Linked DNA regions of Homo sapiens: region 2 is linked to region 1. The links are contacts of gene promoters, found by promoter capture Hi-C in blood cells and fetal thymus (Javierre and others, 2016). All regions are on one chromosome and are shown on one strand. Each heading gives the region's core, a stretch centred on a gene start or on the middle of the fragment in contact. The rest is flanking DNA. Distances are from core to core; before and after follow the strand shown.

What was found. The method cuts DNA at HindIII sites, captures the fragments that hold promoters and counts their contacts. A CHiCAGO score of 5 or more calls a contact.
Region 2: a contact is called between a fragment that was not itself captured here and the fragment with the promoter of ADGRG6 in region 1, in 1 of 17 cell types (monocytes). The highest score is 5.1, in monocytes.

The regions. Positions count from the first base shown.
Region 1 is chr6:142,299,975-142,303,338 of GRCh38, reverse strand. It overlaps ADGRG6 (adhesion G protein-coupled receptor G6), which reads right to left and starts at 1,332. Exons shown (of 25, transcript NM_198569.3): 1 at 1,008-1,332. The coding sequence starts at 1,009. RefSeq lists a silencer at 1,403-1,542. The HindIII fragment of the contact is 4,341 bases long and covers 237-3,364 here.
Region 2 is chr6:142,142,959-142,145,878 of GRCh38, reverse strand. The region is part of intron 1 of NMBR (neuromedin B receptor); the gene reads left to right. Among named protein-coding and RNA genes, the nearest start is that of NMBR, 2.7 kb to the left of the region's middle. The HindIII fragment of the contact is 4,167 bases long and covers 1-2,920 here.

The DNA of each region.
Region 1 (3,364 bases), core at 83-2,582:
AGGACCTAGGGGGCAGGTCTTTCCCCATGTACTGAACTGAAAGAGTAAATTCATGTAAGATCCAGGAGTTGGGGGAAGGAGTGTTAAGTACCAAGTTCTAGAAATTGTTGTACATGAGTTAGTGGAAGGGGATAAAATGTCTGTCACGGTGTCCGTCCAAGATTAACTAAAACATCAGAAGGAAAATTACCTATTACAAGAAAAAGAAACTTCTTAGTTGGCCACAAAAATAAGCTTGGCCCTTTGGAGTACAATCTTCCTTTTCCCATTCTGGAAAGCCAGACGGTGCTTGGCGACCCTTTCATGGGGTCGCTGTGCGCCACCTCACCATTAGGATGACAATTCTATGGAGGCAAAACCTTTTAGGTTTCTCTGTTTCAATGCCCCAATTCCCCACGCCCCCCATAAGTCTATGGAAGTCCCCTCAAATCCTATCACGTAACGTGGCGTAACCCTTAATTACTTCCTAAACTACAAAGCACACTGAAAACATTTTCTGCACACCTTAAAAAAATTCAAACACCCCAAAGATCCAAGAATAACTTCTACAGTCAATGGTGACAATGTGTAAAGTCAACATTTTCTCGGCATACTAGTACCTTCCAAGCCCCCAGGTGTTGATTCCGGAGAGCGCCTTCTTGGCAGGGCCAGGCCTCTGGACTGAGGAGCGGTGCCTGTTACTCCTTGTTTAATTTGAATTGAAAACACGTTTTCCCCATTCTTGAAGCCCTGCCCTTCTTATTAGGCTTTACACCGCCCAAATGTGAGGTTTACCTCGCTGGGGGAAAAAAAACAGCCACACACACATGTCACAACTCCACTTGGCAATAGTCCTACTCCTCAGTGCCTCGAGGGGCAAACTGAAGACAAACCGGTTTATTCCCTCCGTGCAGTTGAAGTCCTTATAAAATCATTTCTCTTGAGGGTGGGGTGGTCGGGGAGGGGGCGACAGAAGGTGGACACAGATAAAAGAGTGAAGGAATTCCAAGCTGAAAGGTGAGACTTACATGTTGACATTACTGCGCCGAGGTCCCCTTTGGCCGCAAGATCATCCTCCACCACTTTCCCGCTCTGCTGCCGCTGCTCCACCCAGGGGGAACCCAGGCGCCCCAGCCCTGCGCCGCGGCGGGACCCTCCTTTACGCCGTTTCTGGAGAGTTCATGGGCTTTCCCGACGGCGCAAGGTGAACCCTGGGCGCGGCAGCGTTCAGCGCAGGGCCTGCGGACGAGGAAGCAGGCTGGCGGCAGGTCCCTCCTCGCAGGGAAGTTGGCAGGGTGAGGGCGAGAAGCTGAGGAAGTAGGGTGTGCGTGGGGCTGGTGCTGAGGAGACCGGGCCAGGCAGGGGTGCGCGTCGCAGGTCCTCGCCCCCGCTGGCGGGAGGCGGGACTCGGCCACCACCCTAGGTACTTGGGTCCCCCTCGCGGGCGCAGGCGACTCTCCCCGGACCCGTGCGCTCCGCCCGCGCTTCCGGCGTGACTGGAGCTGGGCTCAGGTGCGGCGGCCCCGGCGGCGTGCGGCGTATGACCCGACTCCGGCTGCCCTGGTCTGGGCGCTCCGCGGCTGGGGCTGTCCCGAAGGCGCAGCTGCCCCACACAGGATCTTCAACCCCAGGGCCGAAAGGGAGAAGTCGCCCCGCGGGGCGGGACAGGCGCTTTTGGAGCGAGCAGCGAAGGGAGAGTGGCCGGGGTCGGCGATGGGCGCAGAGCCGGGCTCAGCTCCCCAGCTGGGAGGGGACAGGGCGGACCCGGAGGTCGCCGAAACGCCGGGAGCGCTGAACCCCAGAGACCCTCGGCGAGAGAAAGGAGAAGCTGGGAAGGCAGGCGCTCCTGTGGCATCTCCCCAGCGTTTGCAGCCTACCCGAGTCCCCGCGCGGGTCCCCCCGCCACGCTCCCGGGCTGTTGCTTTGCTTCACTTTTCTGCCACTTTCTTTACTTAACTTTTCTGTCTTCTCTGACTAGTTCGCTTGCTCGAAAAAATGAAGGGATTTTAACGGGGGGCTGGGAAGATGGTCACATAACATTTTATTGAGAGGGATTGATTTGCCAACGTAAATCCAGCTGCTTGTTGGGGAAAGTTAGCTGCCTGCTCTCCAATGCTCCTGTAAAGTAGCTGTCTGGCAAAGGGATCTGGACACACCTCCTTGGGAATGAGAAGAGAGAAGGGCTCACACTTGGAAAGAGGTTTTCTTCCCATTGTGTACTGCCAGAGTTAGTCCACAAAATGCTAGAGGCAAACCTTCCGGTGCCAGGGCTGTATGCACATCCAGAACCTCAACAGCTCAGCTTGCACGGTGTACACACTGGCACATGCACAGGCCATACACAGAAGTGCCCTAACAATTATTTCAAGCTGATTAGCTTATGATAGAGAGCTGTTGGTGGGTGCGGGGGGTGGGAAGGAGGTAAAGCAGGACTTACTCACAGTTACAGGCAGAAAGGAAGCTGGAACGCTGCCACCAATTCCAGAGGCCTGAACATCTAGGGTGTGTTCTACTTGTCATTTTTATCAGTATTCATTTTGATGAATAAACGGTATGATTAATAGAGACGCTGAGTTGTAGCATTTAAGGGAAGCTAAAGTTCTTCTGCCCAACTGTCTCACGTTAACAGGTAGGGAAATGAGACTGACAAGATCTGAGGTCTGTGCACACTAGCTAGAGGTGACCAGGGGCTAAGATTAGGTTTCCAGACTACCCTTTTGAGTCAGTCGCTATTACACGGTATAGTCCCAAAGAAATTTAAGGGCCACTCTTGGAATTTTTTAAAAGCAACATGTATTTCACAGTTTGTGGGTCAAGAACCTGGATGCCCTTAGCTCAGTGTCTCTCAGGAGGCCACAATTGGAGTGGTGACTAAGGCTGTGGTCTGATCTGAAGGCTGGACAGGGGAAAGATCTACTTCCAAGTTCACATATGTATTTGTTCCAGTCATAGAATTTTAAAGTTAGAAGAAACCTGGAAACATAAGAGCAAATAAATATAAATAACTGCCAGGCACGGTGGCTCATGCCTGTAATCCCAGCACTTTGGGAAGCTGAGGCGAGTCAGTTGGGGTCAGGAGTTCGAGACCAGTTTGGCCAACATGGTGAGACCTCATCTCTACTGAAAAAAAAAAAAAAAATTAGTCCTGGTGGTACACACCTGTAATCCCAGCTACCTTTTCTGAGGCAGGAGAATCACTTGAACCCGGGAGGTGGAGCTTGCAGTGAGCTGAGGTTGCACCACTGAACTCCAGCCTGGGCAAAAGAGCTAGACTCTGCCTCAAAAAAAGAAAAGACATATAAATAACTTCATTATTCAGTGTTCTCCAGAAAAACGGAGCCAGCTAGATGTGTGTATGCACATAGATATATATATTTTAGTTTTA
Region 2 (2,920 bases), core at 22-2,521, 160 kb after region 1:
GCCCACTCCAGGCATTCTCACTTAATTGTTCTAGGTGGGATCCTAAATGTCAGTATCTTTAAAAGGTCCTCATGTAATTTTAATGTTACGTCTAGGGTTAAGGACCAGTGCTGTAGTCCACAGATGGTGTTTCAAACTTCTCTCGCTCTATTCAAGCTAGGCACTCAGCCCCAATTTCCTTGGTCTACAACAGCATTTCCTGCTATTGAGATTAAGGCCACCACCAGATATGAATTATTTTGCCTTGCCTCTACCACAACTTAAAGTAATAATAACTAGCTAGCAGCATTTGCTGAGCATCAACTATGTATCATGCATGTTTCTAGGGTCTTTATATTAATTTATTTAATTTGCACCACAACCCTATGAGGAACATATCATTATTATTTTACAGATGAGAAAAATAAGACACATAGAATCTAGATAACTTGCACTAGGTCACAGCCAGGAAGGATGAGTATTCCACATTAAAATCTAGGTATTTTGGTTTCAGAGCCTGTGCACCTAGCCATTACTACTTGACTATGATGTCTTTCTAGATCTTATGTTTTATCTTTTCTCTATTCCATCATCTTATGTCTGAGAAACAAATGTTCCTCTTCCTGGTAGAAGGCTGCACCCTCCTGTTACTCTCCTGATCTCCCCCTTCAGAAGTGAATTTTGCCACTCTTTCTCATTTGCATACATTCATGTGTACTCTTATTTGCATACCCTCATGAGCAGGACTGAGGGAAAAATAAGAAAGTGAAATGGTTGGAGTTGGATTTTACTCTCTGATCTGCCAACACATGCTCTTTTCTTTTCTTTCTTTTCTCCTTCCTTCCTTCTTTTTTTCTTTCTTTTTTTTTTTTTTTTTTTAGACAGGTTCTCACTCTGTCACCTAAGCTGGAGTGCAGCACACTATCAGAGCTCGCTGCAGTCTTGGACTCCTGGGCTCAAGGATCTTCTTGCCTCAGCCTCCTGAGTAACTGGGACCACAGGCACATAACACTATGGCTAATTATTATTATTTTGTTGCCTAGGCAGGTCTTGAACTCTTAGTCTCAAGTGATACTCCTGCCTCGGCCTCCCAAAGTGCTGAGATTACAGACAAGAGCCTCATGCTCTCTTCTTTCTAAATATGCTAACCCTTTCATGAGATGATAATTGATTTGATGGAGAACAGTACAGAGACAGTGTTAGTGTAACACACATTGAAATTATGCTATAAAACAAATATTAATGACTGTGAGGTTGCTTTTTCTTGTTTTACTATGATATTTTACTAGAAAGACCTACATTCTTCTTCTCCATTCATCTCAGACCAGTTTCTGAAGGATCTGACATCACCCTCTAGGACTGGGCTAGAACCTTGGCAAGTAAGGGGAGGGCAGAGCTGTAGAACAAAATAGGGGGTGAGGGCAACCATAGGAAGAAGAAAATGGAGAGAAACTAGAGCTGACAGGTGTTTTGATGGGAAAAAATGTTTTACACCATACCCTACATACACACATGTATGTGTGATCATCTGACAATAAAAATATTCTGTGTCCGTTTGGTCAGAACCATCTTGTTGGCAAATGACAGGGCATCAGTCAATGTAATCAGGATAATATATATATCTATAGCTGTATCTTTTTAAGATACTGTATGTGGTAGAAATTTGGCTTCCAGTATCATGAGACTAACATCCTATTATTTTAGCATCCCCCCCAAGTAGAAATAATTTTTCCTTAAATTTTCCGCAGAAGAATGATAGGGAAGACCCTGAAAACTTGGCCAGGACCATTTGCCACCCCATCCGCCCATGGCTGGGACATGTAGACACTATAAACATTGCATTTTATGTTTTAAACACGGATATTTAATTGTTCCGGCACATTTAAAACAATAAGCTAACTATATACGAATATAATGTATTCACAAATGTGAATTGCATTAGCACATTTAAAACAATAAGCTAACTATATACGAGCAAACATATTTCCAGTCTCTTGATTGTTCCCATTCCATATGCCTATCTTCATGCCCGGTCCACATGATTTTGATTATTGTACCTTTAAAGAAGTCTTCAGAGTATGTAGTGTAAGTCCTCTGTCTGTTTTTTTTTTTTCCTTTGCTTTTGCAAAATTGTGTTGGCTATTCTACATCTCCTGTATTTCCATATAAATTTTAGAAACAGCTTGTCAATTTCTATATAAGTTTCCTAGGATTTTGACTGGAATTATATTGAATTTACAGATCAGTTTATAATGACTAAAGTTACAAATGAGTAAGACTGCCAAGCCTTACTCGACATGGTTTATTTTTCCACTTAAAATGGTGCAGTGGCTCACGCCTGTAATTCCAGCACTTTGGGAAGCCGAGGAGAGTGGATCACCTGAGGTCAGGAGTTTGTGATCAGCCTGGCCAACATGGAGAAACCCCGGCTCTACTAAAAGTACAAAATTAGCAGGGTGTGGTGGCACATGCCTGTAATCCCAGCTACTTGGGATACTGAGGCAAGAGAATCGCTTGAACCCGGGAGGCAGAGGTGGCAGTGAGCCAAGATTGTGCCACTGCACTCCAGCCTGGGCGACAGAGCGAGACTCCGTCTCAAAAAATAAAAAATAAAATTAAAATTAAAAAGTCTTTAATTATTTTCATCACTGTTTCGTAGTTTTCATTGTACAGGTCTAGCACATATTTTGAAAAATTTATCACTATGCATTTCATATTTTTTATTGCATTGTAAATGATTTTTTACATTTAAATTTTATTTTTTATTACTCTATAGAAAAATTATTCCTCATAAGTTTATTTATATATATTTTTAAAGTTAGAGTCTTGTTCCGTCCCCCAGGCTAGAGGGCAGTGGTGCAATCATAGCTCACTGCAGCCTCAAACTCCTGGGCTCAAGTCATCCTCTTACCTCAGCCTCTGGAGTAGCTGGGACTGCAGG